7 separate regions of the Homo sapiens genome follow, and all the other regions are linked to region 1. Evidence: promoter capture Hi-C in 16 types of primary human blood cells and fetal thymus (Javierre and others, 2016). All regions are on one chromosome and are shown on one strand. The core of a region is centred on a gene start or on the middle of the fragment in contact, and the rest is flanking DNA. Distances in the headings are between cores, read along the strand shown. Region 1 holds the start of NSUN2 (NOP2/Sun RNA methyltransferase 2). Region 2 overlaps ICE1 (interactor of little elongation complex ELL subunit 1). Region 3 overlaps ICE1 (interactor of little elongation complex ELL subunit 1). Region 4 overlaps ADCY2 (adenylate cyclase 2). Region 5 overlaps CFAP90 (cilia and flagella associated protein 90). Region 6 overlaps MTRR (5-methyltetrahydrofolate-homocysteine methyltransferase reductase). Region 7 holds the start of ADAMTS16 (ADAM metallopeptidase with thrombospondin type 1 motif 16).

What was found. Contacts are between HindIII fragments. The CHiCAGO score rates a contact against its expected background, and 5 or more counts as called.
Region 2: a contact is called between a fragment that was not itself captured here and the fragment with the promoter of NSUN2 in region 1, in 4 of 17 cell types (total CD4 T cells, total B cells, naive CD8 T cells and 1 more). The highest score is 11.0, in total CD4 T cells.
Region 3: a fragment that was not itself captured here is called in contact with the fragment with the promoter of NSUN2 in region 1 in 1 of 17 cell types (naive CD8 T cells); the score reaches 5.7 in naive CD8 T cells.
Region 4: a fragment that was not itself captured here is called in contact with the fragment with the promoter of NSUN2 in region 1 in 1 of 17 cell types (monocytes); the score reaches 7.8 in monocytes.
Region 5: a contact is called between a fragment that was not itself captured here and the fragment with the promoter of NSUN2 in region 1, in 1 of 17 cell types (non-activated CD4 T cells). The highest score is 5.2, in non-activated CD4 T cells.
Region 6: a fragment that was not itself captured here is called in contact with the fragment with the promoter of NSUN2 in region 1 in 1 of 17 cell types (non-activated CD4 T cells); the score reaches 6.8 in non-activated CD4 T cells.
Region 7: the fragment with the promoter of ADAMTS16 here is called in contact with the fragment with the promoter of NSUN2 in region 1 in 1 of 17 cell types (total CD8 T cells); the score reaches 5.1 in total CD8 T cells.

The regions. Positions count from the first base shown.
Region 1 is chr5:6,631,726-6,634,554 of GRCh38, reverse strand. It overlaps NSUN2 (NOP2/Sun RNA methyltransferase 2), which reads left to right and starts at 1,511. Exons shown (of 19, transcript NM_017755.6): 1 at 1,511-1,671; 2 at 1,799-1,956; 3 at 2,578-2,682. The coding sequence starts at 1,576. SRD5A1 (steroid 5 alpha-reductase 1) reads right to left here and starts at 1,115. Exons shown (of 5, transcript NM_001047.4): 1 at 686-1,115. The coding sequence starts at 978. RefSeq lists enhancers at 392-903, 904-1,415 and a silencer at 879-1,268. The HindIII fragment of the contact is 4,632 bases long and covers 1-2,829 here.
Region 2 is chr5:5,429,799-5,432,543 of GRCh38, reverse strand. All of the region lies in intron 1 of ICE1 (interactor of little elongation complex ELL subunit 1), which reads right to left. Among named protein-coding and RNA genes, the nearest start is that of ICE1, 8.5 kb to the right of the region's middle. The HindIII fragment of the contact is 4,322 bases long and covers 1-2,745 here.
Region 3 is chr5:5,450,689-5,453,388 of GRCh38, reverse strand. The region is part of intron 10 of ICE1 (interactor of little elongation complex ELL subunit 1); the gene reads right to left. Among named protein-coding and RNA genes, the nearest start is that of ICE1, 29 kb to the right of the region's middle. The HindIII fragment of the contact is 2,759 bases long and covers 1-2,650 here.
Region 4 is chr5:7,804,626-7,807,386 of GRCh38, reverse strand. It overlaps ADCY2 (adenylate cyclase 2), which reads right to left. Exons shown (of 25, transcript NM_020546.3): 22 at 2,695-2,761. Among named protein-coding and RNA genes, the nearest start is that of CFAP90, 45 kb to the left of the region's middle. The HindIII fragment of the contact is 7,785 bases long and covers 1-2,761 here.
Region 5 is chr5:7,842,348-7,845,239 of GRCh38, reverse strand. The region is part of intron 1 of CFAP90 (cilia and flagella associated protein 90); the gene reads left to right. Among named protein-coding and RNA genes, the nearest start is that of CFAP90, 7.3 kb to the left of the region's middle. The HindIII fragment of the contact is 1,457 bases long and covers 548-2,004 here.
Region 6 is chr5:7,886,073-7,888,772 of GRCh38, reverse strand. It overlaps MTRR (5-methyltetrahydrofolate-homocysteine methyltransferase reductase), which reads right to left. Exons shown (of 15, transcript NM_002454.3): 8 at 2,070-2,158. Among named protein-coding and RNA genes, the nearest start is that of MTRR, 18 kb to the right of the region's middle. The HindIII fragment of the contact is 454 bases long and covers 1,122-1,575 here.
Region 7 is chr5:5,138,991-5,141,690 of GRCh38, reverse strand. It overlaps ADAMTS16 (ADAM metallopeptidase with thrombospondin type 1 motif 16), which reads right to left and starts at 1,361. Exons shown (of 23, transcript NM_139056.4): 1 at 1,152-1,361; 2 at 925-1,027. The coding sequence starts at 1,223. ADAMTS16-DT (ADAMTS16 divergent transcript) reads left to right here and starts at 1,637. Exons shown (of 4, transcript NR_109915.1): 1 at 1,637-1,735. RefSeq lists an enhancer at 1,589-2,155. The HindIII fragment of the contact is 3,896 bases long and covers 1-2,700 here.

The sequences.
Region 1 (2,829 bases), core at 262-2,761:
ATCACTTGGCTGGGAGAAAACAGCTCCACCATCACCAAAGATACCAAAAGGGGAACCGGCAGAAAGGAGTAGAAACCAGTGGCCCTCAAGACCGACCATCAGCATTAGACTCTAGGCCAACCCCCTCCCCCCCGCCCCCACAGTCGTGATCTAAGGGAACAAAATCTAGTCTTCATTTTTATTTTACATTTTTACTTTTTAACTCTTTATTTTTATATATTTAATTTTGAGACAGAGTCTCGCTCTGTCACCCAGGCTGGAGGGCAGTGGCGAGATCTCGGCTCACTGTAACCTCCGCCTCTCGGGTTCAAGCGATTCTTCCATCTCAGACTCCCGAGTAACTGGGATCACAGACAGGCGCCACCGCGCCCGGCTAAGGAAACCAAACCTAGGACCACTGAGTGGCTCTTTCCAGATCAGTTTCATCATGTTTTTTTCCATCACTCCCTTCCAGTCCTTTGTTTCCCGCCCTTTCCAGACGAATCCCTTCTGGTTTCCAAACTCCCGGGGCCGGGGGACTCGGGGAAGGGCACCCGTGCAGATGGGGGACGCCCCGGGGGATCTGGCAGGGAGAGGGCATCTGGGTGGGGGAGGCTTCGGGGAGAGGGCACCGGGCAGTGAGGGGAGGGTCGGAGAGGACGCCGGGCCGGGAGTAGGGTAGGGGGCCGGGGGCCGGGGACGTTACCGATGCCCGTAGTGGACGAGGAACATGGCCAGGAGGATGCAGTTGGGCGCGCTGCGGAGACGCGGGGCGGACTCGCTGGCGTACTGGTAGAGCGGCAGGGCCAGCGAGGGCAGCTCCTGCACCACCCAGGCGGCCCGCGCCGGCACTCGGAGCCTGTGGCTGGGCAGCGCGTGGCGGCCGTACACTGAGTTCGTCTGACGATTGCGCGCGAAGACCGCGCAGCCCACGGCGCACTGCAGGTAGGCGAGCGCGGCCAGCAGGCGCTCCTCCGCCACCCCCGTCGCCGTTGCCATCGCCAGGGCTGGGCAGCGTGCTCCATGCCCCAGAGGCCGCGGCGGGCAACATATAGGGCGGCGGCGCGGGGGCAGGAGGGGCGGCTACCGGAGGGGCGGCTACCGGAGTCCCGCACTGCCGGGACTCTGCAGAAAGGGTTCTCAAGTCAGGCTTCTCCGGGGTAGCCGGGGCTGTGGGTGCGGCCCCGGGGGCGGGGCGAGCACTTGCGCGGGGAGGGACCTGCAAGCGCCCCACCCACGCCGGGGCCGCAGTAACCCCGCGCCGCTCTGCGCACGCGCGGCTTCAGGCTGTCCGCGGAGCTCCTTGAGCCCGCGTGGGAAACCTGGGCGCTTCGCGCGGAGACGCCTTTGTGGCTGCTTCCTGGAGCATTTTTTTCCCCTTAGAGCTGTTCGCTGTTTTCCCTGTCACGCCGCTTTTCTGAAAGACGGGTTGTGCGCTTTGGGCTTATTCCTGGACGGTCCCCAAAGGTCCCCGAAAGGACCAGGCCCGGACACGTGGGGCCTTGGTTTCCGGCCGGAAGTCCCGGGAGGTGTAGGGCTAGAGTTCTGGCCGTGGCGGGCCGGTTTCTGCGTGCTGCGTGCGCGGCCGCGTGGGCTATGGGGCGGCGGTCGCGGGGTCGGCGGCTCCAGCAACAGCAGCGGCCGGAGGACGCGGAGGATGGCGCCGAGGGTGGTGGAAAGCGCGGCGAGGCGGTAGGAGCCGGGACCCGGCGGGCGGGCCAGGGGCTCCTCCTGGGCTTCCCGGACCCCGAGGCCTGCGAGGCGGCGGCGAGGGGGCGGCTCCTTGGGCCTCGGGGTAGACGTCTCTTTCCTTCCTCAGGGCTGGGAAGGAGGCTACCCCGAGATCGTCAAGGAGAACAAGCTGTTCGAGCACTACTACCAGGAGCTCAAGATCGTGCCCGAGGGCGAGTGGGGCCAGTTCATGGACGCTCTCAGGGAGCCGCTCCCGGCCACTTTAAGAATTACTGGTTACAAAAGGTAGGGAGGCAGTGCCTGATTTTTTGGGAGTTGGGGCCAGGATGCTGGAGGTTAAAGGCGACGGTGTTTTCTTCGACAAGTGTTACAGTGCCAGAGAACCGTGGCGTTTCAGCGGTTTGGATTCAGGAAGCATTGAGGTGGGGAGCACAGGGTCCAATGAAATGGTCACGGAGGTATTGCAGGCGCAAGGTTAGAAGACGAAATGAAAATGAGATCTGAGGAAGATTCGGCTCCTGGGGAATCTTCCAGGAGGGAAGCTGAGGGTCTTACCTTTTGGAACGTAAGAGAATTTATAGAGAATGCATAAAACCCCTTGGTTCTCCCCTCCTCCGCGCCCCCCCTCCATCTTTGTAGTTACATCTTTCTAAATGAGTCGCAAGTAAAACTTAACGGTAGGATATGCTTAGGAGAGAAGGAATGCAGTGTTGCTCTTAGGGCTCAAACAGTGTGGATTGCTTAAATTTTGAAGGCATACAGTGTAAAAGTAGTGACTAAAGAATGTTTACTCTCCATGCAAAAGTTGGTTTTAGTTTTAAAACACTTGCAGTCTTAAATTTAAGAAGATACAATGTATTAACTTAGTTTTTTAGATCAGTTTGAAACTTCCTTATTTTTCAATAGCCACGCAAAAGAGATTCTCCATTGCTTAAAGAACAAATATTTTAAGGAATTGGAGGACCTGGAGGTGGACGGTCAGAAAGTTGAAGTTCCACAGCCACTGAGTTGGTAGGTACCACAGTGCTTCATGCCGAATATTTATTTGGGATATTAATCTCTATCACTTGAATTATATTTCTTGGTACTGCATTTGCTGTTAAAGAGCTTGGGTATACTTTGCAAACATCCTAATGTTCTAGTACCTGGTGCTTTTAT
Region 2 (2,745 bases), core at 63-2,562, 1.2 Mb after region 1:
TCCCATTCCTAGGTATGAACTGAAAATAGAGTCCACGGCAAACTTACACACTGATATTTATAGCAGCACTATTTCAAACTAGCCAAAAAGTGAACATAAATTAAATGTCCATCAAAGGATGAACTGATTCACAAAATGTCACATATCCATACAACAGGAATTATTTGACAATGAAAATGAACGAATGATACATGCTACAACATGGACCAACCTTGAAACATTATGCTAAGTGAAAAAAGCCAGTTACAAAAGTCCACGTGTATTCTAGAGTCCATTCATATGAATTTTCCTTAACAGAGCCAAAAGTAATCCAGTGGCTGCCAGAGACTGGAGGAAGAGTACAGAGACAGGAAATGACTAGTAACTAGTATAGGGTTTCTTTGGGGAAGGTGGAGGATGAAAATGTTTTAGGACTATGTAGTGGTGATGTCTGCACAACTCTGTGAATTGAACTGAATTGTATACAATAAAAGGCAGAATTTTATATGTAAATTATATTTCAATAATGCTGTTATAGCTAACAAAGACTCAAAATATTTGACCATAAAGTTAAAAAAAAAGGATGCAGAAAATAAAAACCCAGACACGAGAAAGAAGGAAAATAAATAAAAACAAATAGGGTATCAACACAAGAGGCCCCACATACCCAACAATAAGAGTTCCACATAAAGAATAAGGCGAAGATGGAGACCTAATTAAAAAAAAAATACTGGTATTCAAGAAAAGTTCCCAGAAGCAAATCTAGAAATTTCTAATTGAAAGGGCCTGGAATATGGACTTCAATAGGATTCAAACCATGAAACAAGAACACAAAATTTCAGACCACTGGAGACAAAGCAAAGACCCTACCAGAATCCCAAGAGCAAAATAAAAGGCATCAAGTGATACACAAAGAATCGGGGATAGAATGGCTTCAGACTTCAACACCAACACGAAAAACTAGACCTAGAAAGCAAGCCTTCGAAATGGCAAAGGGCAAGTAATTCCAAGATAAAATTCTACACAATAAATATTTTCAAATCTGCAAAGTCTCTACAAACTTACTTCCCAGACATTCTTTCTCAGGGGGTACTGAAAGATGTGAACATGGTCCTTCGGAATGGAGATGGGGGTGAAGAGAGCCCTCAGAATGCTGCTGCGTACCAGATGACAGTAGGCCCCAAAGCTCGAAGGGAGAAGAAAATGAAAGACTGAAAACATTCGAGTATTTATACCAAACTGGCAGAGACTTGCAAGGGAATGCAGTTATTTTTGGACATGCATTTAAACTATTATTTTTTCTAAAATAAAAGTGATTCTTCCTCTTTTTTCTCCCATTCTCTTTTGAGTTCTTTGGTACCCTAGCTCATCTTTCCCATGCTTCTAGATGTCATTTTGAGTTGCCAAGTACTTAGGCAGAGACCCCGAAGAAACCTCAGGCTCCAGAGTCACAGAGTCAGATTCACATTCCTATTCCACCCCCACTTTCTGCTAAGTGACCTTGGGCAAATTTATTTAACCTCTCCCCTGCCTCGAAACTATTTCATCAGTTTTACAGATGGAGAAACTGAAGCAAAAAGAGTTTAAATAACTGGCATACTATCAGGATTAAATAAGATGCACCATATAAAGTGTTCAATCCAGTCCCTGGCATAGCAGTAAGCACTCACTAATATCTTCAGGATGAAAAATTGAATTAAAGATACAATCATTATCAGGGAAAACAAGAAACCATGCAGAAAACACCACAGCTTAGCTTCAAATAACAGTCCTAATAATGTCAACTTCAAATACTGATCTAACTGAAATCATAACTATACTGAACAAATGGAGAAAGAAGAGATATGCTTAGGCATGGTGGAGTATGGGGCAGTAAGAGAGCTGAATCCTCACCTCCCAAAGTCAGCAATGAGTCTACTATTTAACAACAGGAAAATTCATTGTAAAATACACAGTGGAAGCAATTAAAAATGGTTCTGTCTTGGAAAGCAGGGATGAGTGGGGCTGGGGGCTGCTGACTTGTTGTCTTAACAACTCTTGTATATCTGTCTAGCTGCCTTTTTATATTTAACTGTGATTAAACAAAAAACAAGATCACAAAACAGTATAATGAGAAAACAAAAGATTTCTCAGTTATCCGATAGCATTCTAGTCTCTGACTAACATTATTTCCCAAGGCCCTGCTGCATATCAGCTCAAATCTGGTCAGATACTGTATTATCTGTGGTCAGATATTGTAATACTCTGATAAAACATTTTTTTTTCCTCCAATCAGATTCAGATGTCATTTATGTTGGCTGAAACCAAGGCCTCTAAATAATGAACCTCGCAATTGTGAAAGTGAGCAGGGTGTGCCTGGGTGAAGGGCGATCAGGCTCCTCTGACCCACATTCATTCCTGCACAGGTCCAGCTGCTATGGAAGAAGTGAGGTTCAAGGTGTTCTTCCTCTCCAGGAGATACTAAGGGTTGTTTCCTCGATTATCGCTTTCTCTTAGCAGCCCTGCTCTCCTCTTCTAGAGCTTCTATTATATAGTCTATTGGAAAGTTCAGGCTTATTTTCAATTCTCTCCTCTTTTCTCTCATAACTACCATCTTTTCTTTGCCTTCTGGGTGATTTCTTAAGCTATACTAATTCACTAACACAATTCCCAGAGCAGCCCACTCTCTTACTCAAGACTTTTTGTTTCCCATTTACTTCTCCCCTCTACCAGACAATTTTAACTTTATCCATACAATACCCTCCTGAATTGTCACTGTGAATGCTG
Region 3 (2,700 bases), core at 22-2,521, 1.2 Mb after region 1:
AGAAAGGGGCAGGACAACTGTGGAGGACAGTTCACGGGTAAGTGTGAAAGGCTGGACACTGCCAACTCTCCTGAGCCAAAACAACCTTCTGATTGCCACTGTGTGTGAGCCATATCCATTTTTCAGTTCCAAAATTCTGTGATCGAGTAGCTTATCTACATTGTGATATAACCTACCCAAAAGCCTGCTTCCAAATACTGTAATCCCCTTTGCTTAAATGACCTGACCAGGATCCCTGCTTATTACGTATACCCAAAGCAGCAAACAAGGAACCTTAAAAAAAAAGAAAAAAAGTTACTTTTCCATTCTTATGGAGGCTATCATCCAGAGCTATGCCTTTGTAACTGAGCATTCATTACTGCTAATCTGACCCAAAAAATAAATAAATAAAAGCACTCTATTCCCAACAAAGCAGAAAAACATCTTCAGCGTTAACTTCACACTTAGTTGTGAAGACAACACCTCCTTCAAGTGAATTGCACAACTTTCCCTGATCCTTTAAAATTCTGCCTTTATCAAACTCTAAGGCATGTATGAATATTTAAGGACTTACATATTTATTTATTTAATTTATTTTCTACTTCATTGCTTTGTCATTTTCTGTATCCATACCACACTTCTTTAATCAGGGTAGGTTACTGAATATCTGTTAGAGCGTAATCATTATTCAGTTTTCTCCTGTTGAAAAATTGTATTATTCTGAACATACACTTTTCCCTATAAACCATCTGCTTGTGCTCTTCCATAGAAAACATCTATGGGACTTTGAATATTTCTGTATATTTATAAATACATTTGGGGAAATTTTACATCTTTATGCTTTGAATCTTCTCATCCAGGAACATGTTTATGTACTCAGGTCTTCCTTAACGCTTTTAAGGAATGTTTCAGTTTTCCTCAGAAACACTGTATACTGCTTTCAGGTCTTTTCTTAGACATCTGCTGGTTCAGGTGCCACTTGAGAATGGGTTGTTCTTATTCCATTCCTTTTCTAACAGGTTAATAACGGTACAATGTATATGTTCATTGTATATGCCAGCACTTTACCAAGCTCTATTACTTCTAATTCCAACTCTGAGTCTTTTAAATTCTCTACATTAGTAGTATCATCTGAAATAATGACAATTTCAACTTTTCTTTATTAGTATTCACAGATCCTACTCTTCTGCATTTATTCTGTTGCACTGGTTCAGGCCTCCAGTACAAAAAAAAAAAAAAAAAAAAATGGAACAAACAAAAAGCATGCTTGCCTTGTTTTTGACAGTAATAACTATACTTTGAATGTTTCACCTTTCTCAAGTTAAAATTTTTTTTCCATTACCTCATCAATTTTTTGAAATTGGGACTACGTGCTGAATTGAGATGATCACAACATTCTCTGACCCAGCTGTAGTATTCCTGAGATAAATCTTCAAGCATAATTTGTCTGTACTCTAAATTTGTGGATTTAATTTCTTAAAATTTTATTTGGTATTTTTGCAGCTATATTAACAACACAAGAGTCCTGAATCTTGAGAACATGTGTGCATGCTATTTGATTTTGGTACAGCATTATGCTAGCCTAAGAGAATAAAATGGAAACATTCCTTATTTTCTAAGTTCTGAAACAAAAAAATTAATAACAGAGACACTAGTTTTTCACTGAACGTTTACAAAGCTCACCTATAAATTATCCGGATTTATTATGGTGTTAGATCTTTAACTATTGTTAAAAATTTCTTCCTATTTTTTGTTCAGGTTTGTAGCAATTGTTCTGAGTCAATTTGAGCATGTTTTCCTTGAAAATGGACCATTCTACTTACATTTTCACATCTGAATATGAACTTGTGAATTATGAAATTTCTTGACTGTAGTTTTACCTGTTTCTCAATCCTGGTGCTGTTTTTCCTTCTGTTTGTTTGTTTAATCAAAGTTTACCAAAGAGTTGTTGGTTTCACTAGCATTACAAAGAACCAGCTATCAGATTTAATTGTCCTAAATCAATTGCTTTGTTTCCTATTTCATTAAGTTTGCATTTTCATCAATTTTTTCTTTCAGTTAAACACTTCATTCTCCGTATTTATTTCTAAAGTGACAATGTATCACGTAAGGCCTTAACATATTCCTTTGAATAGTGAAGGAATTGGCTATATCTTAAAGATTTTAATAAATATTGCCCTACTGTTTACTTTCAAAACAGTTTAGTATTTCAATTCTTATTTTCTCTGTTACCAAAGAGAGGTTTTTTGTGTGTCTTATGTGAGTTTAGTTATTAGGTAAGTTTTGCAGGTTTTGTTTTTGCAGAGGGAGGGGGATTTTTATTAAAAGCTCATATTAAATTGTAGGTATTTTTTATTGTTCACTTACTAGTCAACTTTTATACATTTGAAAAGTATTTTAACAAACTCCAGGTGTGTGGTTTACAAACAGTTGTATATAAATTATCCATTTGGAACTGTGATTCCAATTCCATCCCTTGTCTGCTTTTGCTCTCTCTTTCTAAAAAACATTGTGAAGTCTCTCACGACGAAAATAGATTTGGCCAGTCCCCCTAGATTTCCAAGAGTATTGCTTGACATCGTTTCACACTCTTAGGTACATACTAGCAGTATCTTCATGGCAAACTATACTTTTAATCAACATTTCAATAATGTAAATTCATTTCTAAGCTTTTATTATTTTTTACCTTACATGACTGCTTTAATGTCAGCATTGCTTGGA
Region 4 (2,761 bases), core at 208-2,707, 1.2 Mb before region 1:
GTAGAGTTCCTGATGGCATTGGTGAGGCAGGATTGTGGAGGTGTAGAGAGAAAGTAGAAGGTGAAAGATAAAGGCAGTGGCTATGGACTCTCAGTCTATAAAGCGTGGCTGCGGAAAGGAAGAGAAAAGACCTGGAGACTTTTCTTGAACATCCAGAAGACTGGGTCTGATGGAGGCAGAGTTAGGGTCAGGAAGAACAGGCAGACACGCACCCTGGGCTGTAGAGTGACACTGATTGTGGAACAGGTCTTCATGTGGTGGTGCCTCGGAAGATCTCCCACTCCGAGGCCCTGCCAAAGTATTGTTAGTTGGCTGTCCAAGAGCAAAGGGCTGGAGTGGATGTGATCAGGTGAAGTGCTCCTGATGGCCCTCATTAGATGAGCTGGAGAAGCCTCCAAGTCATAACTGGATGAGGGTGAGGTAAGTGAGGCACTCACCTCAGGAGAGAAACTTCAGAAGGAGAAAGAAGCTCAGCAATCATGAGAAATAATATGCTAGTGCAATATTTTTAAAAATCAAAATCAATGCAGAAAAATTCAAGATGAACTAAAATAATGAAATTTTAAATAAAGATACTGCTGTGGACAGGATTGTGTCCTCCCTAAAATTTATATGTTGAAGTGCTAACCTCCCAGGTGACTGTACTGAAGACAGAGCTTTGTTAGGAGGTAATTATGGTCAACTAAGATGATAAGGGTGGAGCTCCGATCCAACGGAACTGGTGCCCTCTTTAAAGTGGAAGAGAAACCAGCTCTCTCTCTGTCTCTGTCTCTCTCTCTCTCTCCCCTCCATGGGAGGCCTAAGAGAAGTGAGAAGGCTGCTGTGTGCAAGACAGAAGAGGAGCCCTCAGCAGACACCTAATCAGCCAGCACCTCAGTCCTGAATTTCCCAGCCTTCAGAACTGTGAGAAATAAATTTCTGTCATTTAAGCCACCCAGCCTGTGGTATTCTGCCTGGCAGGCCAAGCAGACTAAGACACATAGGTCCTGACAGTGTTGTGCTGAGCATCTTAGAGCCTGAGGCAGTAAGAAAAATGCCTGTCTCTATACATGTCTTAATGTTATTTTTTTTTTAATGGTCAATGTTTTCCAGAACATTAAAGGCATTGGAGGAGCATATATTTGTTTCCATGAAAGCCAGGAAACTAAAATTGTAATTAGTTCTGGTTTGGGTTATAAATAGAATATTTAAAATTAAAAGAATGTTGTACATTTTAATATCTCGATTTTACATTTTTTCAATTTTTTTAACACTTTAATGTTCTGGAAAAAACCCTAACCATTAAAAATCTACAACACCATGCAGAGGATACAGCAGTTTTCCTTTGGCCACAGACTCCATGATGGCTTGAGAGGGTGTTGCTCAGAATTCAAAGGCAAGGTTCTTCTGGGGTTTCTTTTATGGCTTGTTTCTTTTATTTTCTTTATTACTGAAGTAATGCATACTCATTAAAAAATAATAATCTGAAGGCAACCACCTGAAGAGGAGAACCAATGGAATACATATCACTCCAATTAACTGGAAGAATGCTAGGGTTCCATCTTGAGTCAGACGTCTATCCATGTTCTACTCTTTGCCCATGAATGCATGAATGTTAAGCGGGAAACTAGGACCCTCTCATGATATTCCTGGAAGAGGGAGCTCTGTTATGGTGCCTGCTGCCTCTCTCCCCACTCTCACTCTTCCCATGGGAGGTGGTTATGGGAGAGGGGCTCATACATGGTACTCAACCCTTCTTCTCTTTGAGAACCTGCCTGTCCACAGAAAGTGTGTTCTGGTAAGTGCAGTTTCTCTGTGGTCTGCCCAGCAGAGGGCAGGCTCCACAGCAAAGGCCACTGTCCTGAGGGGAAAGGAGGTCTTTTTTACTAATATTCCAACAAGTTACACAAGCATGTCTACATACATGCTGTCTCTCTCTCTCTCTCTCTCACACACACACACACGAGAAAATCTCGAAAACCTTAGTTGATTGAAGATATTCAATTTTGCCCAAATGACCTTTTCAATGAAATTTCCATGTGGCCAACTTGTTTTTTGACCACATTATTTTATTTTAATTCATTTTTTAGATGCGGTGTCACTCTGTCACACGGGCTGGAGTGCAGTGGTGCGATCTCAGTTCACTGCAACCTCCACCTCCCAGGCTCAACCATCCTCCCATCTCAGCCTCTTGAGTAACAGGGACCACAAGTGCATGCTACCACACCTGGCTATTTTTTTTTTTTGTATTTTTGGTAAAGACGGGGTTTCACTATGTTGCCCAGGTTGGTCTCAAACTCCTGAGCTCAAGAGATCCACCCACCTCGGCCTCCCAAAGTGCTGGGATTACAGACGTGAGCCACCGCACACGGCCTTGACTATATTCTTTTAAATCAAAAGACCTGGATCCATTCTTACTGAGTCTCCTTCAAATAACTAGCTTTCATCTTCTACTTCATTGTGTATTTATCTGGTAACAAGCAGCTACTGATTGGTTTTTCTTCTCCTGTTGGCCAGCAGAAGGAGTTCTGTGAACAGATCCTCTGGCTCTAAGAAGTCTGGAATTTTCATCTTCTCTCATAGGACCTTGACCCTGAGCTTTAGGTTGTACAAAATATACAGTTCTTGGGGCATTTCATGGCTGTTTTGGTCCCAGGGTGGTTTGTGGATGGGGTTGAGGCTCACCTGTGCCGTTAAGTGGCCAACGCGTCTTACCTGGGAGTGCTCCTGGCTGGGCACAGCGCTCAGACCTGTTGCTGCCATGTATGTGCTGCCAATGGTC
Region 5 (2,892 bases), core at 27-2,526, 1.2 Mb before region 1:
AGGGACCTGGTGGGAGGTGATTGGATCATGGGGGCAGTTTCCCCCTTGCTGTTCTCATGATAGTAAGTGAGTCCTCAGGAGATCTGATGGTTTAAAAGTGGCACTTCCCTCTTTGCTCTCTCTCTGTCTCTCCTGCCAGCAGGTGAAGAAGGTCTTTGCTTCCCCTTTGCTTTCTGCCATGATTGTAAGTTTCCTGAGGCCTCCCCAGCCATGTGGAACTGTGAGTCAATCAAACCTTTTTTTCTTTATAAATTACCCAGTCCTAGGCAGTTCTTTATAGCAGTGCAAAAATGGACTAATACACATGCTAACTGTCCAGAGGCACAAAGGGGAATCTCTGAAGGACCTGACAGTATGCAGACAGTGCTCAATATGAGCCTCCCCAGGTCCTCCCTCTATGGGTCCTGTCTGCTTAGGAACCAAGCACCTTTACCACACACACTCAGCCACTCCAAGGGGGCTGTGTGGGGAAGGTGAACTCAGTTCTGTTGCTGATCTGCCTGTCATTATCTAGGCAACTCCCCATTATCCAGCAGACTCATAAGCTTACATGCCTTTCCAAAAGAATTTGTACTGGCCCAGTGAAATTATGACCTCTCTGCATGGATACCTCTTTCCTTCTCCCTGCCTATTTTTCTCCTTTTGCCTATTAGTATCTAACCTGCTAAGTATTTTCCTTAGTTATCTTGTTGTTTTCTCCCACTAAATGTGAGCTTTGTGAGGACAATGATTTACCTTTATCACAGCTATGTCTTCAGCAATCAAAAGAGTGCCTGTCTCATAGTTGGAACTCCATAAATACCTGTTGCATGAACAAATGAGGAATGAATAATCGGAAAGCCAATTTTTAAAACAAAGGGATAAGTCACCGACTTACAAAATTTGCTTCTTAAGAGTAACTTGGGGGTTTCGGTTTGGATTATCTGCTGCTTTGCTTATCCCTGTCCTCGTTCTCCTCCTCTGGTATCGTCAATGGCAGTGGGCTATAGTTTCTTCTCTACTTCTCTAGTTGCATTTTCACTCTCCAGTGACCTGCCCCTGGAAAACTCAGGGCTTGGGGGAATGGGGCTGAATATCTTCCTCCAGGGCAGGTAGCTCCTTAAAAAGGGGTTGGTCGGGGGGCTGAGCCCAAGGCCCAGTTTCCCTTGCAAACCCATTTATGAGAGAGGAATGAGTGAAAGGGGAGGCAGGCATGTTCTAGTGGAGACCTTTCACATGGTACGAAACACCGAGAGTGAGGAATCCATGTTCCAATGAATCAAAACTCCTGTGTGAGCATGTGCTCTGTGTCTTTTCATTGAGTGCATGTTTGTCGAGATACGTATCTAATGTTTTTTATACAAGAACATATTCACACACAGATCACACAAATATGGACACATATATTGCAGCTTGCCCTTTTCATTTAATAACATATCTTAGTTTTTCAAAATCACCCCGTTTTAAGGGGTACAAGCAAATGACACAAGAAAAGAGACAACATTTTTCCCAATAACTTTGACCAAGAGGAACATATAAGATTGAATTCGAGTTTCAGCCCCTGTGGATCGCTGTTTCTTCCTGAGTTGTGAATTGCTGGGCTGGGGGTGAGGGGTGAGTAGGGAGCTGGTATCAGTGGAAGAGGAAAAACAATTGACTCCACAATCACCAAGTTTCCAACTGGTGACAAGTTGAGCACATAGATGAATGTAGAACTCTCTGAATCAGAACACTCTTAGAATTTGACACAGACACAAGATCAGAGGGAGGAATTATCTTGACTTCAGTCTGATGGTAAAATATCCAGATTATTTGAAAATTTATAAGAATTTCTAAAACTTGTGATATTAATGTACCAGGAGAGGACATAGAATCTTTTCCACAGGAAAAATCAAAAACCCAAAGAGAATAGTTGAGTATTGTCTTTTCAAAAAAACCTAACATTGTGTCCTTCGCAAGCAACAGTCCTCTGAGATACAGAATTTTGAATGCTGTTAAAATGAATAAAAATGTCCTCATTAAGCTTCACACAATACCAAACCTCCAAGGAGATGCTCTGGATTTATTAGAAGTAAATTGAGGCCCTGATGAATCAAAGGAAACTGTTTTGGATCACCTTGGGGGTTTTCAGTTTTAAAATTAGGTTGTTTATCCCTGGACAAGCAAACTCACGGAAAGCCTCAAGATGAGGAGGTCATAGTGCTGTGGCTTCTGAGGACAGGAAATGAGGTAGCCCACTCATAGGTTGATTAGCATATTAGACAAGGTGGGCTAGGATGTGCTATGGAAACACACCCTAAACCCAAAAAGTCTTAACCGCCGGTGTGCTGGAGCTGGCTTGTATGACTCACAAAAGCCAACTGTTAGCATTTCTTCTAAGCTCTGCATTTAACTGGTAGCCTAAAATTGACCATGACCGAAGTATTTACACCACAGAAATCATCAAATACTACAAATCAGATTTTTTTCTCTCCAGAAAGTGGGTTGTTAAACATAGGTGCACCAACGGGCTTAACATAATAACCATGACATCATAGAGGCTTATTTTTTTCTCATTCATAGCCCAGCATTTATGTTTCTCCAGGGAGGCTCTTGGTGCAATTGCTTGGAAATCCAAGTGCCTTCTTTTTCATGGTTTCACTATTACTAGGGCCTAGGAGTTTTTAGGACTTTAGAGTCATTTATTGGATGCTCTGAATTTATTAGCCAGTGAGTGGGGAGAGAGGGTTTGGAGGACTGCCTGAGAGTTTTTTATGGACCAGGACTAGAAGTAGTATTTACTGGAGTCACCCACATTCCTGGCCCCAGCCTACTTGTGGGGCAAACTGGGAAATGCATCTTCTGCTTGTTCTGGAAGAGGTAGTATGTTTGATGAGCACATAGCATTACCCCTGCCACAATTACATGACAAAA
Region 6 (2,700 bases), core at 99-2,598, 1.3 Mb before region 1:
GCAGACATAGCTTATTTCTCAAGGGCTCTTTAGGAACAAAGCACTTCAGTAATTATCTGCATCAAATGTTATGTGAAATGCTAATGGGTACTGCTACTTTAAATTCCATGGCTCAAGATGATTGTGTCCTGGACTTCCTTAACAGGGAGGACAAAATCACTGTTCCCAAAGGAGTCACAGGTTTCCAAAGGTTTGGCTGAAGAATCTCTGTCTAAAATACCTGGACACTAACAAATTACACGTGTTCCTCCAAGTGCCAAACTCAGCATTGACCAAAAACAACGACTCAGGAAACACTGCTGAATGGACGCCCCAAATCTCTGCAAAGACTTTGGCAAGATAATAAAAACATCTACCAATAACAGTTTGTAAATTCTAAAGCCAATACAATCTCCTAAATTAAAAGCTAAAACAGTGACAATTTTTCCTTTAACATACTTTTTTCACTTTAGAACTACAAAAACTTTATGGTACTACAACAGGAAATACTGCACTGTTTTTGGAGAACAAGATGACAAACCTGACAAACATTACTACAATTTAAAATGTAAATATTTTTAAAACAGCAATTCTACTCCAAGGAATTTGTTTTACAAATATACTTCAAGTAAGTGTTCAAAAATTAATACAGTACAAGAAAGTTTGCCTTTTTTAATAGTGAAAAAGCAAAAATGACTCAATTGCCCATAATTACATCAACAAATAATGGTGTATCCATAGTATCCATTAAAACTCTTTCCATCCTGAAATATACAGATTCTTGATTTAAGTTAAAAAGGCAAGTTATGGAACAGCACATATAATATGGATACCCATATTTTCCTCAGGAAAACAAAATTCAAGTGTTAACTCAGAGGGTTTGATTATAAAATACTTTGGTTTCCTGGGTTATTTCTGTATCCAGAATTTTTCCAATGAGCATACTATTTTTGAAAAAACCCATATATATATATATATATATATATATATATATATATATGCACACACACACACACAAATATATACATACACACACATATATACACACACATATATATACACATATACAGACATACACACACACTTTACACAAATTTTAAAAGGGTAGAGCTGAACCAAAATTGTGACTTAATCGGTAAGCTTTCATTACAGTAAATTAATTCTAAATACTCAAATTACATCTCGAGCTGATTACCAGGAAAGGAAGATGGAATATATATATATATAAATCTATATATATATAAATATACATATATTTATTTAGAGAGCTGAGCCTCTCTCTAAAGTACTTTACTCACCCAAGACTAGAAATGCAATAAACACATTAATAAAACGACACGAAAACCACACTGGGGAGATGGCGGCCTAATTACAACACTCTTTATGCTCACTGACAATACAAGTGTGGCAAGGCACATTTGAAAAATTGTATCCATTAATGGCCACTTCCGGGAGCTGGTTAGAAGAAATCAGTTACAAGTAGTTTTAAAAAAACAGTTCCTGGTACAATACTGACATCTAGTGGATTATTCTACCTCCAAGTTCACATAATAATTGATTATTACCTACCAAAACCCTTCCATTTTTCCTGAAGCTTTCTGTTACAGCAATAAATAGTTATGTAGTATTACACAAAGTAGATCTTAACAACTGTAGGAAGTGGCAAGTGGTGGTTGGGGGGAATCCTACGCTCTCATTAGCTTTCTGTCACCAATTAAAGAAGGAGCAGCAATGTGTAGCTGGGTAACACAAGGTCAACTGCAGTCACCTCCATCACTGTGGAATGTGCTACGTAGTTAATAACTAGTAAAAGTAAGACAAAGAAAAAGCCCTATTTAGACTAAGAAAAAGCCCTATTTAAGCCCTCATTTCAATAGAAAACAAAAATTTAAATGCAAATACAACATAAAAAGATTCATAGATGATAGTTACGATGATAGCACACACCCTTGGGAACTAATATTAAAAACATGCTATCAAGATCACATTTTTTAAGACTGCAAAGGGCATATTCTAAATTTGTTTAATCAATCCTAAATAAAGCTAAGCATATTTTAAAATAGTTACCTGAAGAAGACAGAAAAAAATACCTTTTTAGGAATTGCTCGGATTTCAAGACACCAGGTAAAAATGAACTGGAGAGAACATCCCGCAGGTATATGCTGGGGTAAGGTAGCTCCTTTTCAGGTAAAGACGGGAAAGGGGTTCATGACATAGAAGATGAAGAATAAAATGTTTTACACACTCCCCAAAACACAATTACTGTAGTACTTTACAGCGCATCAAAGTGCAACATGACTTGTGGCAATGTTTATTCAGCCAAAAAAATTCCCCAAAATGAATACAGTAAAAAACTCCACCTTACAAAAACATAAGAAGACTATAAATTCAAGATAGGCCAAATAAAAGAAAGGAAAATTATTTAAAATTAAGGAAATGAAAGCTAAAAAGACAGCAGTACTCCATTAGCATTATTCTTCTCAAAAAATCAATTTAGGACTACTTCAAGATTCTAAGTAAATAATATATTTATATTTTGAAAAATAAATAACTTCTCTTAATTATGGAAAAAGCAATTATTTTATATAATAAATGAGCAAAAACAAACATACTATGAGAAGTAAACATAATAGGAAAAGAATTTTTAAAAATAACCTAGGCCAATGCTTCTCAAAAACTACATTTACACTCAGTTTTCATGTCCACAAATGTCCAATAATT
Region 7 (2,700 bases), core at 112-2,611, 1.5 Mb after region 1:
AATTGTTAACTTTAATTTTCTAGATCTTCTGGAAATACATTGAGAGAATGAAACCTAGTTCTTCCTATAAAAGTCAATTAATATTAACATTTGATACGGCAATTTATTGTTGGTAACAATGCAAAATAATATTTATTAACTGTCATTGGATGGGTTCAGGTTAAAAAACCACCTAGCAACCAGTGCGACACACCTGCGTTCTCATTTACCTGATGCAGTATGAAGACACAGAGATCCCTTTCCATAAGACAGCAAATTTCCAAATGTCACTTGTAAGTGGCAGAAGTAAAAGCATGCATTGAAAAAGAATAAGACTTGCCCTCATGTCAAATTGTGGCCCAGGATATGAACGTTGCTGATGGTGTCACAATCAGCTGATTAGCCATTTCAGGCACTATTATGTTTGAAGTACGCCCTGATTGTTGGAGCATTAACTTTGGTATTGAGATGCTAAGCGCTTCTTTTATCTCCTTCACTGAGAATAAGCAACGATAGAGGAATATTTTAATCTATAAAGGAGGAGAAGGAGGAAAGGTTGGGGACGGGAAGGAGGATCCGAGGATGTAGAAGGGGACGGAAAAGAAAGTAATTTGCTCTTTATGACGGCTTTGATGCATACATTAATAGCTTTAGATTCTTCCTAAGCTCTTTAGAATAAAATAAAATGAACTTCCTCACCTTTTTCCTAATGTTATATCAATAACTCTGGCAAACCGTTTTGCCAGGGAATAAAATGTAAATATTGGTGGAAATCCACTCATCGGGGCTCGCTCATACAGTTAAAAAAAAAAAAAGTTCACAACAGCATCTTAAAAGTAGGGTTCCACAGAGTCGTGAACATTCACAGCACCTAATAAACCAGCGGCACGGAGATTACGAGCTGCTAAATGGCAAGGATTAGAAGCCCCCACCTCACGGACTTACCGCCCTTTTCCATCCAGCCCGGCCGCTCCGCGGGTGGAGGAGGACGCGGGACGCTCGGGCTCCCAGGCGCTGCCGCTGCGGGTCCCATGGCGCACGCAGGTGCCTGCGGAAAACAGCGGCGACATCGCGGTGAGACGGCGGGGTCCGCGGGAGAGGAGCCGCGGGGGACTCGCCTCCAGCTGTCCGGACCCGCGGTTTCCGCGCTGGTGGGAGCGCCCGGGACTCACCTGCTCGGCCACCTGCGCCAACAGCATCCACAGCGCCGCCAAGCCCCGCCATCCGCGCGCGCGGGGCTTCATCCAGGAGCGCTCCGAGGGGCTAGGGGCCACCGGAGGGTCCCCGGCCGGCAGCGTGCGAGCGGGCAGGGAGGACCCGACCCAGGCAGAGCGCGGGAGGATTCCCCACAGCGACTCCGCCGCCGCGCCGGGGTTATTACTGAAGCTCCGTGCGGCGCGGGGGGCGGAGTGGCAGCCGCGGCGGCGGGGGCGGCGGGAGCGGTGGGAGAGCGCGGGGCGGGCAGGGGAGAGAGGAGGGGAGGAGGTGAGGGCGGGGGGGTCAGAGGACCGAGGAGGGGAGAGTGCAGGGACAAAGAGCAGAGGGGAGGAGGCGAGGTCAGCGGGGCGCTGAGGCGGAGGCGAGCGGGGAGCAGAGGGAAGGCGGGAGACAGCGGGCAGCGCCAGAGGAGGAGGACGCGGGAAGATGGAGCTGCCCACGGCCTGCAGTCCGTGCCTCTCTGCCCGCGCGGGGACCACACAGTTGGAGAGGCTGCCGGGCACCGGCGCGGGCGATGCTCAGCATGGACCTCCGGCCGGTGCGCGCTCCTGCCCTGCCTTGGGGCTGGGGACTCGGCGGGACTCCAGCTACTGCAGTGGCTCCGCGGGCTCCCACCTCCGGGCCGCACCGGCGCCGCCAGAGGCCGGGACACCTGCAGCCCGCGGAGTGCGGTCTGGCCGCGCCTCTGTGCCCGGGCACAGCTGTGGGGACACTGGGTGCGGAAAACCGGGCGCCAGGACGTGGGAGAGCCGCGGACCTGCCTTTAAAGGCGCGTGCCTCGCTCTGGAGTTTGCGGAGCGATCGGAGACGGGGAGGCTGAGGAGGAAACTCTTCCCCCGCGCCATTTGCCCCGAGATGTGGCGGCGCTCCTGGCCCCGCGGTCACGGCCACCCTCAACTGGCCAGGCCGCGGAGGCCGGTGACTGGCTGCTGGGTGCAATCCCTAGGGAGGTCTCAGGGCTGCGGATGGGCCTGGGTCTCGGCCGCCACGGGGGTCGATCGGGCTACTGTGTGGACAGGGTGGCCAAGGAGGCAGCAGGTGTGCGGTCAACAGCCTGGCCAGAATTCTGCTGTAGCTGGATGGGGTGTGTGAGCGCGCGGGTGTACATGTGCCTGGGTGTGCGCGGGTGTACATCCACACCTGACTGCGTGTGCGCGAGTACACGCTGTGAGCCCATAGTGTGTCTGGAATTGGTGGGTTCTTGGTCTCACTGACTTCAAGAATGAAGCCGCATACCCTCGCGGTGAGTGGGTACAGCTCTTAAGGTGGTGCGTCTGGAGTTTGTTACTTCTGATGTTCAGATGTGTTCGGAGTTTCTTCCTTCTGGTGGGTTCGTGGTCTCGCTGGCTCAGGATTGAAGCTGCAGACCTAGGCGGTGAGTGTTACAGCTCTTAAGGCAGAGCCTCTGGAGTTGTTCGTTCTTCCCGGTGGGCTCGTGGTCTCGCTGGGCTCAGGAGTGAAGCTGCAGATCTTCACGGTGAGTGTTACAGCTCATGAAAGCAG